2 separate regions of the Homo sapiens genome follow, and region 1 is linked to region 2. The links are contacts of gene promoters, found by promoter capture Hi-C in human tissues and cell types (Jung and others, 2019). All regions are on one chromosome and are shown on one strand. Each heading gives the region's core, a stretch centred on a gene start or on the middle of the fragment in contact. The rest is flanking DNA. Distances are from core to core; before and after follow the strand shown. Region 1 holds the start of SLC6A16 (solute carrier family 6 member 16). Region 2 holds the start of IRF3 (interferon regulatory factor 3).

Region 1 (5,357 bases), core at 207-2,706, 340 kb before region 2:
TCTACTAAGACTAAATCACAAACAGAAAATCTGAATAGATCTATAACTAGTAAGGAGATTGAATTGGTAATCAAAAATCTCTCAACAAAGAAAAGCTCTGGACCTGATGGCTTCATGGGTGAATTCTACTAAACCTTTAATGAATTAATATCAATCCTTCTCAAACTTTTCCAAAAAATTGGAGAGGAGGGAACACTTCCTCATTCATCCTATAAGGCCAACATTGCCCTAATACCAGAGCCATACAAAGACATTATAAGAAAAGAACACTACAGACCTATATTCATTATGAACTTTGATGCAAAAATCCTCAAAAAAAATACTACCAAACCTAATTCAGCAGCATATTAAAAGGATTATATACCATGACCAAGTGGGATTTATTCCTGGAATGCAAGGATGGTTCTGCATACAAAAATCAATCAATATAATATACCACATTAACAAAATGAAAGAAAAATAATGATTCTCTCAACTGATGCAGAAAAAACATTTGACAAAACTCAATACCCTTTCATGATAAAAAAAAAAAAAAAAACTCAACAATCTAGGAGTTAAAGGAAAATACGGCTGGGCATGGTGACTCATGCCTGTAATCCCAACACTTTGGGAGGCCTGATGACCACTTGAACCCAGGAGTTCAAGACCAGCCTGGGGCCAGGTGCAGTGGCTCACATCTGTAATCCCAGCACTTTGGGAGGCCAAGGCGGGTGGATCACCTGAGGTCAGGAGTTCAAGACCAGCCTGGCTAACATGGTGAAACCTGATCTCTACTAAAAATACAAAAATTAGTCAGATGTGGTGGTGTGCACCTGTAGTCCCAGCTACTTGGGAGGCTAAGGCTGGAGAATCGCTTGAACCTGGGAGGCAGAGGTTGCAGTGAGCCAAGATCATACCACTGCACTCCAGCCTGGGTGACAGAGCAAGACTCCATCTCAAAAACAAACAAACAAACAAACAAACAAAATTTTTAATTACCTGGGTGTGTTGATGTACTTCTGTAGTCCTAGCTACTCATGAGGCTGAGATGGGAGAATCACTTCAGCCCAGGAGGTCAACGCTACAGTGAGCCATGATGACACCACTACACTCCAGCCTGGGTCACAAAGTGACACCATGTCTCAGCAAAAAAAAAAAAAGGAAAATATCCCAACATAATAGCCATATACGAAAAACTCACAGCAAATGTCATACTTAATGATAAAAGACTGTAAGCTTTTCCTCTAAGATTAGAAACAAGCGTAGAATGTCTAATTTTGCCACTTTTATTCAACATAGTACTGGAAGTCCTAGCCAGAGAAATTAGGCAAAAATATAAATAAATAAAAGGAAACCAAACTAGAAAGATTATATGATCTTATACGTAGAAAATCCTAAAATTTTCACCAAAAAAATTTTTGAGCTAATAAATGAATTCAGCAAAGTAGCAGGATACAAAGTCAACAATCAAAACTCAGTTGCATTTTTATACACTAACAATGAACAATCTGAAAAGAAAATTATGAAAACAATTCCATTTGTAATAGCATCAGAAAGAATAAAATACTTAAGAATTAACTTGGCTGGGCACGGTGGCTCAAGCCTGTAATCCCAGCACTTTGGGAGGCCAAAGTGGGCAGATCACCTGAGGTCAGGAGTTCGAGACCAGCCTGACGAACATGGAGAAAACCCGTTTCCATTACCAAGTTACCCAGGCATGGTGGCACATGCCTGTAATCCCAGCTACTCAGGAGGCTGAGGCAGGAGAATCACTTGAACCTGGGAGGCAGAGGTTGCAGTGAGCCGAGATTGCACCATTGCACTCCAACCTGGGCAACAAGAGTGAAACTCCATCTCAAAAAAAAAAAAAAAAAGAATTAACCAAGAAGGTGAAAGACATGTACAAAGAAAACTACAAAACATTGCTGAAAAAAATTAAAGGAGACATAAATAAATGGAAAAATATCCCATGTTCATGGGTTGGAAGACAACACTGTTAAGATGTCAGTATTACCCAAAGCAATCTACAGAATTAGTAGCTTTTTTTTTTTTTTTTTTTTTTTTTTTTTTTTTTTTTTTTTTTTTGCAGAAATAGAAAAACACGTCCTAAAACTAACATGAAATCTCAAGGGACCCTGAACAGCCAAAATAATCTTGAAAAAGAAGAAAAACGCTGGTGTACTCACATTTCCTGATTTCAAAACATATTACAAAGCTATAGTAATCAAAATAGTGTGTTACTCACATAAAGATACAGACCAAGGGAACAGAATAGAGGGCCCAGAAACAATGTATGGAAAAATGATTTTTTACAAGGGTGCCAAGACTACTCAATGAGTAAAGGACAGTCTTTTCAACAAATGGTGCTGGGAAAACTGGATTATGTACAGGCAAAAGAGTAAAGATGGACTCTTACCTAACACCACATACAAATACACAAAATAAATCAAAGACCTAAATGTAACACTTAAAATTATAAAATTCTTAGAATAAAACATACGACAAAAGCTTCATGATAGTGGATCTGCAATGAATTCTTGGATATGATACCAAAGGCAAAAGCAACAAAAGAAGAAACAAACAGGATTTCATTAAAATGTTTTAAATTTGTGCATCAAGAGACACTATCAAAGGGGTGAAAAGATAACCCACAGAATGGGAGGAAATATCTGAAAATCATATGTATAATAAGAGATTAATATTCAGAATATATAGAGAACTCGTAAAACTCAACAACAAAGAAACAAACAACACAATTCAAAAATGGGCAAAAGACTTAAATAGACATTTCTCCAAGGAAGATATACCAATCTCCAAGAAGTACATGAAAAGATGTTCAACGTCACTAATCATTAAGGAAATGCAAATGAAAACTACAATGAGATAATACCTCGCATCCATTAGGATGGCTAATATAAAAAGGCAGAAAATAAGAAGTGTTGGTGAGGATGTGGAGAAATTGGAATCCTTGTGCCTTGCTGGTCAGAATGTAAAATGGTGCAACCACCATGGAAAACACTATGGTGGTTCCTCAAAAACTTAAAAATAGAATTACCATATGATCCAGCAATTCCACTTCTGGGTATACACCCAAAATAAGTGAAAACCAAGCCTCCAGTGGCTCAGCCTGTAATCCCAGCTCTTTGAAAGGCTGAGGTGGAAGGATTGCTTGAGCCCAGAAGTTCGAGGCTGTAGTGAGAGGTGATCATGCCACTGGACTCCAGCCTGGGAGACAGAGAGAGACCCTGTCTCTTAAAAATAATAATAATAGGCTGGGCACGGGGGTTCACACCTGTAATCTCAGCACTTTAGGAAGCTGAGGCGGGTGGATCGGCTGAGGTCAGGAGCTCGAGACCAGCCAGGCCAACACAGTGAAACCCCGTTTCTACTAAAAATACAAAAAATTAGCTGGGGGTGGTGGCGCACGCCTATAGTCCCAGCTACTTGGGAGGCTGAGGCAGGAGAATCGCTTGAACCTGGGAAGCAGAGGTTGCAGTGAGCTGAGATCGTGCCACTGCACTCCAGCCTGGGTGACAGAGTGGGACTCCATCTCAAATAAATAAATAAATAAAAAATAATAGATTCATGTTTCTTAAACACATTCTAGAACAGTTGTCCTTAAAAGCAAGCTTTACGGAAGGGAGAGAACTGAGTTTTGGCCAGCTGGCCACTTCCAACATCCATAAAGCCCCTTGAGCCCCAGGCGGACTCCTCTTCCCATATGGGTGCAACCCTCCATGGTGCCCCTACACCGTCATCCCAAGCAACTCCTAGGCTCATGCCCTGTGGGGAGTGCTCAGGATCCCCCAGAAATGCCCATTCCCCTCACATTACCTCCTTCCCTGGAACTATAACCTCCAGAAAAGGAAAATAAGGAGCTGGTGTCCCATTTCTGCAAAAAGCAGAAAATAACTGCCCTAACAGACCAGTGATGGGGCTAGACCCGGGTTTCTGCCACTCGGGCACTTGACACTGATGGCTTTCCCCAAAGGCAGGGACTGATGGCCGAATCCTGTCAAGGAATTGGCTCAAACTCGGACTGGATGAGTGAGGAGAGCCGAAGACAGTTTCCTCTGTCCTACGTGGGGGGTAAAGGAGGGACCCCTTTGATCCCTCAGCTCCACAGAGCCCAGGGCAACCAGGAGGCTCCCAGCCAGTCACCTGTCACCCGTCAGTGGAGCCCAGTGGGCCCGGGCCTCGAAAATGGCGCCCAGCCCCACACACCCCAGATGTGGGAACATTTTAGGGCTCCCTGGGCCGTGACCCTCACCCTAGCCCCAAGGCTTCTGCCAGGTTCTTCAGTCCAGCCAGTCGGACAAAAATGAGGGTGAAGAAGCCCCAGCTGAGAAGCCTAGCAATCTCCTCAGGCCCCTTCAGGCGTCGACAGATCGGTTTGGGCGACACCCCTCGATCTGCCTGGCGCGCGGCCTTTCCCGCCGATTCTCTGCGCATGCGCCGCCGCGCCCCCTCACTCTTTCCCTACAGCTGTAGCAAACACTGTAACCACTTCGCCCTCCCCAACTCCCTGCTCTCTCCCCACACGCACGCACGTGTGCACATCCTCTGACTGCTCACGCGCCACTCCCTTCCCCACCGCACCCCACCCCGACACCCACGATGCCACGCTTCAGGCGGGGCTCTAAGACAAGGCCTTTCTCTGGCACATGCACTTTGCTTCCACTTCATGTAAGGAAGAAGAGGGTAGGAAGTGGGAGAATCGTCTCATTCATTCCTTCTAGCCTTCAAACCTTTCGCATTTACTTAAAGATCGCCTACTAGAAACCAAACCTTAAATATGCGTCCAACAAGGCAGACAGGGACGTTGCCTTAAGAGAGCTCAGAAGCCTACTAGGGCTGCAGACAAGAATTAAAAACTCAAAGATTTACTTAGGTCATCCGTTCTCATACTTTCCGGTCTCTTAAGAATTATTAAGGACTCCAATAATTTATGAGTTACATTTATATGGGTTGTATGTTTATGTGAGTTGTATCTATCAATATTAAAATAAATTTCTAAAATAGTCATTGTTTAAAAATTCATTATGTGTCAAAATAACATTTTTATTTAAAATAACTATAATTTCTACTCCAAAAGAAATTTTGGCGCTGGGCGCGGTGGCTGACGCCTGTAATCCCAGCACTTTGGGAGGCCAAGGCGGGTGGATCACGAGGTCAGGAGTTCGAGACTAGCTTGGCCAACATGATGAAACCCCGTCTCTACTAAAAGTCAAAAAAAAAAAAAATTAGCCGGGCGTGGTGGCACACACCTGTAATCCCAGCTACTCGGGAGCCTGAGGCAGGAGAATCGTTGGAACCCAGGAGGCAGAGGTTGCAATGAGCCGAGATTTTGCCACTGCACTCCAGCCTAGACAACAGAG
Region 2 (5,150 bases), core at 498-2,997:
CCCGCCTTGGCCTTGCAAAGTGCTAGGATTACAGGTGTGAACCACCGCCCCCGGCCCAAAAACCTTTTCTTTCTAAGCCAGGCTTCCAAGTCCAACTTGGTGTCTAATCCCGTGCACCACCTGCCCCGCGACACCCTCTGTGATAACCCCGCCCCTCACACTGTTTACCACCTCTGGCATATACTAATTCGGTAGTTAGGAACCTCAGATTTGGGGCTCCAGGCCTCACCTCTGATGTTTCAAGAACCATCCCCCAGTATCTATCCTACAACCAAGAGCCCCGGCCTCTAGAAAGCCCCAAACCCCCAGGATGCATTTCCTTTGCGTACTAACCGGCTTTCCCGGTTTTATTCCCGTAACCCTGCAGCTCCAACCCTGCTTGCGCCCCACCATCAGTCAGCGGATCCGGCTAGCCCCGCCCCTCCCGTTCTAGCCCCACCCACCAGCGTTGGCACGAGCCCGCCCCTCGCGCGCCACCTCCGCCTTCTCAGCCGGGCCCACTAGGAGTCCTTTCCGCCCAGCGCGCAGCTCCGGGTTTCCAGCGTCCCAGGTCGTCGCACGCACCTGGAAGATTCCGAAATCCTCCTGCTGTGCATCCTGCCGTAGGCCGTGCTTCCAAGGGATGCGGAAGCGCGTGCGGCTCTTGTTCACCCAGGCCACGCCCTCCAGTTGCCCCAGGTCCAGCTGCGACACCAGCCAGGGCAGGATCCGTGGCTTTGGGGTTCCCATGGTCCGGCCTGCGCGTATAGGGCATTTCCTGGGCGCGACCGGCCTCCCCCGGACCCACCTGGCCTGGAGTTTCCGCACCCAGACCTCCTTCTCACGGGCCACGGCACAGGTCCTTCACCCATATTTTCGGGGGTACAAACAGGAAACCTCCTCTTCCCATCCTCCCATCCTCCCGAGAGGCTCTCTAATCAGCTAGGGTTCCTTCCCATATCCATGGCACATCCTTCCCCAGCGTCTTCAGTGCAGACCCTCCACTCCCTCAATTCCGCCAGTATAGACCTCCTCCCTCCCCCACATCATCGAAAGTAAGTATCCCCACTTTCAGGGTAGCATCCTCTTTCCCTAGTTATTTCAGTGCAGAATCGATTCACGTGTAAGCCTCTACCTCCTGCACTTACCCCAATGTAGACCCCCTTCCACAGTCCCCCTACAGAAGATCTCCCAAAACATTTCCAACACAGAACTTCCATTCAATTCCCCTCCGACTGCCCGCCTCCCTCCTCCAGGACAGAGCACGCCCCAGGTTTCGAGACTGAACTACCCCCATCTACGGAGTCCACCCCTCCCTCTCTAGAACCCCCTCAGTGTAGACGCCTCCTCTTTTCCTCTTTCCTCCCTACTTTTTCTAGTTTTTCTGCAGCCGACCTCCAGCGTCGGCCACTGTAGCTCCTTCCTTGCTCCACTTTCCCCAGAGTACACAGCCTGCCTTTCCACTCTCCGTGCAGACCCATCCTCTTTCCCGCTCCTCGCTCTCGGACGCCACCAACGCTCTCCCGGGCTCTTCCGCGTTACCTACGATGGAAGGTCGGGGCGTGCGGGCAGCTGGAACCCACCCCTGTCTTGGAGCTCCGGGTAGCTCTCAAACTCGAGGCTGCGCACCCCCTTTCCCGTCAGCTGAGCTCTAGAGCGCTGGGGCTTTCTTTTTGATCGACTTCTTGAAATAAAACCAACTTTATCATTCTTTGGGTAACAGACCCAAAAGCCGATGGGACGGCCCGCTGGGCTGTTCCCGCCCCTATGCCCTTTTTTGGGTTTCCGGCCAGAGGCATGCTGGGAGCGTCACATGCAAATTGAGCGTGCACCCAGCGTTCCGCCCTTTCTACGCTGGGCCGGTTATCGACCCGGCCCAGTGCGCAGGCGCGGGAAAGTTGAACTAATAAAGTTTGTACGAGTTCAGTGGAGGAGACCGCAAGTTGAGTGGAGGAGGCGGCGGTGGGGCCCCGGACCAGGTCAGCGGGGTGTTGACGAGGGGTGGGGTGAGGAGGGAAGAGGAGGGGGCCGGGATCCAGTGGTGGGCACCCCAGTCCCGCTTCTCTGATATCCAAGGGTCCAGGGTCCTCTAGATTCCAGCAGGGGTCGGAGATTTGGAACTACACCTCACAGCAGGCTGCGCGGCGAAGAAGCGCGGACCTAGGGGAAGATTTGCCCTGAAACCTCTTGGGATTGGTAGTTCCCGATGCTTTAAGGGTTTCAGGAGTTTGGCATATGCCTCTTATAGAATCCAGGAGTTGGGGCGCTAAGCCTCTTCTTCCTGGGAGACCTAAGGGTCTGGGGCTCCAGTTCCTTTTTCTCTAAGACTCAGAAGTCCAGGACCCCAGCTCCCTCCTCCTTTAGACCCACGAATCTGGGCACCCAGCCCCACCACCTTTCCTTGGATCGAAGAGTCTTTTTCCTGATCGCTTTTTCGTCTGAGGACTCAAGAGTCTAGGCCCCCAGACCCACACTCTCCAAAGGACCCAGGAGTCCAGGCCCTCAGCACCTTCCTTGGGACTCACAAGTCCTGGTCCCCAAGCCTCCACTTCTTGCTAAACCCTTGGAGTCCAGTCCCTAACCCTCTCTCTCACAGGTGCCTCCATGGCAGGCTCTGAAGAGCTGGGGCTCCGGGAAGACACGCTGAGGGTCCTAGCTGCCTTCCTTAGGCGTGGTGAGGCTGCCGGGTCTCCTGTTCCAACTCCACCTAGGTAAGAGGAGTGGCCCTTCTCCCCCAGGGGCCAGCATTTGAGGCTCCCTCCTAACTCTTGCTCCTGGTCTCAGTCTGTCTCCTCTCTTTATATCTGGCTCTATTCTCTGTCTTTGGGGTTTTGGAGAGAGGTCCTCAGCGGGGGAGGGAGGGAGTTGGGGAAAGAGACTGCTTGCAGGGGATCTCTGGTGGGGTCAGTCTCTGAAGTCCTCCTCTCCAGAAGCCCTGCCCAAGAAGAGCCAACAGACTTCCTGAGCCGCCTTCGAAGATGTCTTCCCTGCTCCCTGGGGCGAGGAGCAGCCCCCTCTGAGTCCCCTCGGCCTTGCTCTCTGCCCATCCGCCCCTGCTATGGTTTAGAGCCTGGTAAGAGATTTCCATGATCATCTATGAAGCCGGCAGAACACGGGATAAGGTGCTAGTTTAAGATCACTCAGCTAGGGGGTGGCTGTGTGGAGTCTCTAGCACCAGCCTTCAGGACAGAACCGTCCTGTCCTCTCCCCTCCCCAGTTAGATTTCTGTCAATTCTGTGGGTTGGCTTTCAGAGAGCATTTGGTCAATCTGGTTGTTGTCTCTTTCCTTCCATAACTACTTCCCTGCCCCTAGGACTTTTGTAGCCAGGAATACCCCTGATAGAGGGGCAGAAGGGCTGGTTTTCAATCACATCTCCCTGGCTGTTTTAGTTGCGTGACTCTGGGGAAAATGCTTTCTCTTCCCTGCTCCCCTGTTTTTCCAATAGCAGAGTAGGAATTGGGGAGGAGGTCACTGGACTTGATCAAGGTGACCCACAAGTTTCCTCATAGGTGTGAACCTGGACAGACTAGTAATGGCTGCTGGGAGTGCTAGCTTGAAAAGGGGTTCACAGCTTGGGAGAGGAAGTGCTGTGATCAATTGGTGATGTCTGTAGTGAGTGAGGGAAGGGGATACTAACAGTAATGTCTTGTGTTTGCCTTCCTTGGATGAGATCATCTTCAAGGTCTAGTTGAGCTCTGACAGTCTTTTGGAGACAGATTGTTGCTCTGTCACCCAGGCTGGAGTGCAGGGGTGCAATCTCGACTCACTGCAATCCCCACCTCCTGGGTTCAAGCGATTCTCGTGCCTCAGCCTCCCGAGTGACTGGGATTACAGGTGCACGCCAGCATACTAGCTGATTTTTATACTTTTAGTAGACACGGGGTTTCGCCACGTTGGCCAGGCTGGCCTCAAACTCCTGGCCTCAAGTGACCCTCCCACGTCGGCCTCCCAAAATGTTGAGATTGCAGACGTGAGCCACCGCACCCTGTCAGCTCTGACATTCTTTTTTTTTTTTTTTTTTTTGAGACGGAGTTTCGCCCTTGTTGCCCAGGCTGGAGTGCAATGGCCCGATCTCGGCTCACCACAACCTCTACCTCCCGGGTTCAAGTAATTCTCCTGCCTCAGCCTCCCAAGTAGCTGGGATTATAGGCATGCGCCACCATGCCCGGCTAATTTTTTTTGTATTTTTAGTAGAGATGGGGTTTCTCCATGTTGGTCAGGCTGCTCTCGAACTCCCAACCTCAGGTGATCTGCCTGCCTCAGCCTCCCAAAGTGATGGGATTACAGGCGTGAGCCACTGCGCCTGGCCCCAGCTCTGACATTCTAAGTCCAGTCTGAGGATCTCATAAAGTGAAAAGTACAAGGGTTTTGGCATTTTTAACCAAGTTTTCTCACTGGGCCTCAGTTTACCCCATTATAAAATGGGAATCATGGCCAGGCTTGGTTGCTCACGCCTGTAATCCTAGCACTTTGGGAGGCTGAGGTGGGTGGATTGCCTGAGGTCAGCCTGGGCAACACGGTGAAACCCCATTTCTACTAAAATACAAAAAATTAGCCAGGTATGGCGGCGTGCGCCTGTAGTCCCAGCTACTCATGAGGCTGAGGCAGGAGAATTGCGAGACTCCGTTTCCCAAAATCAATACATAAATAAATAATAAATAAAATGGGAATCATTGCCACCTGCCAAGGTAGTTGGGGGAAGGAGAGAATCCGTAAGTTTCCAATGTCCTGGAAACCTGTCATTAACTCTTTTCACCCCAGGCCCAGCTACTCCAGACTTCTATGCTTTGGTGGCCCAGCGGCTGGAACAGCTGGTCCAAGAGCAGCTGAAATCTCCGCCCAGCCCAGGTGAGGCACAGAGGAGCCCCAGAGAAGGATGGCGGTGGGAGGATAGTCAGGGTTCTGCCCCCAGCCAAATTCTCTTCTGCCTCCAGAATTACAGGGTCCCCCATCGACAGAGAAGGAAGCCATACTGCGGAGGCTGGTGGCCCTGCTGGAGGAGGAGGCAGAAGTCATTAACCAGAAGGTGATGGGCATCTGTCCCACTCCTTGGCAAGGACAGGAGTTGCGGAATGGTGGGGCACTGGGATCAGAAGCTGGATCTGTATTTTCTTTGGATGGTCAGGTGGAAAGAGGCTGGGACAAGGTTTCAATGAAGGGTTGAGGCCGG

What was found. The method cuts DNA at HindIII sites, captures the fragments that hold promoters and counts their contacts. A contact is called where the count stands out against the background at its distance.
Region 1: a fragment that was not itself captured here is called in contact with the fragment with the promoter of IRF3 in region 2 in 1 of the 25 tissues and cell types used here (adrenal gland).

What each region holds. Positions count from the first base shown.
Region 1 is chr19:49,320,799-49,326,155 of GRCh38, forward strand. SLC6A16 (solute carrier family 6 member 16) reads right to left here and starts at 4,393. Exons shown (of 12, transcript NM_014037.3): 1 at 4,250-4,393. The HindIII fragment of the contact is 3,182 bases long and covers 1-3,047 here.
Region 2 is chr19:49,664,110-49,669,259 of GRCh38, forward strand. IRF3 (interferon regulatory factor 3) reads right to left here and starts at 1,748. Exons shown (of 8, transcript NM_001571.6): 1 at 1,522-1,748; 2 at 565-737. The coding sequence starts at 729. BCL2L12 (BCL2 like 12) reads left to right here and starts at 1,824. Exons shown (of 7, transcript NM_138639.2): 1 at 1,824-1,958; 2 at 2,576-2,690; 3 at 2,910-3,052; 4 at 4,742-4,828; 5 at 4,915-5,006. The coding sequence starts at 2,584. RefSeq lists silencers at 1,727-1,876, 1,917-1,996. The HindIII fragment of the contact is 43,433 bases long and covers 1-5,150 here.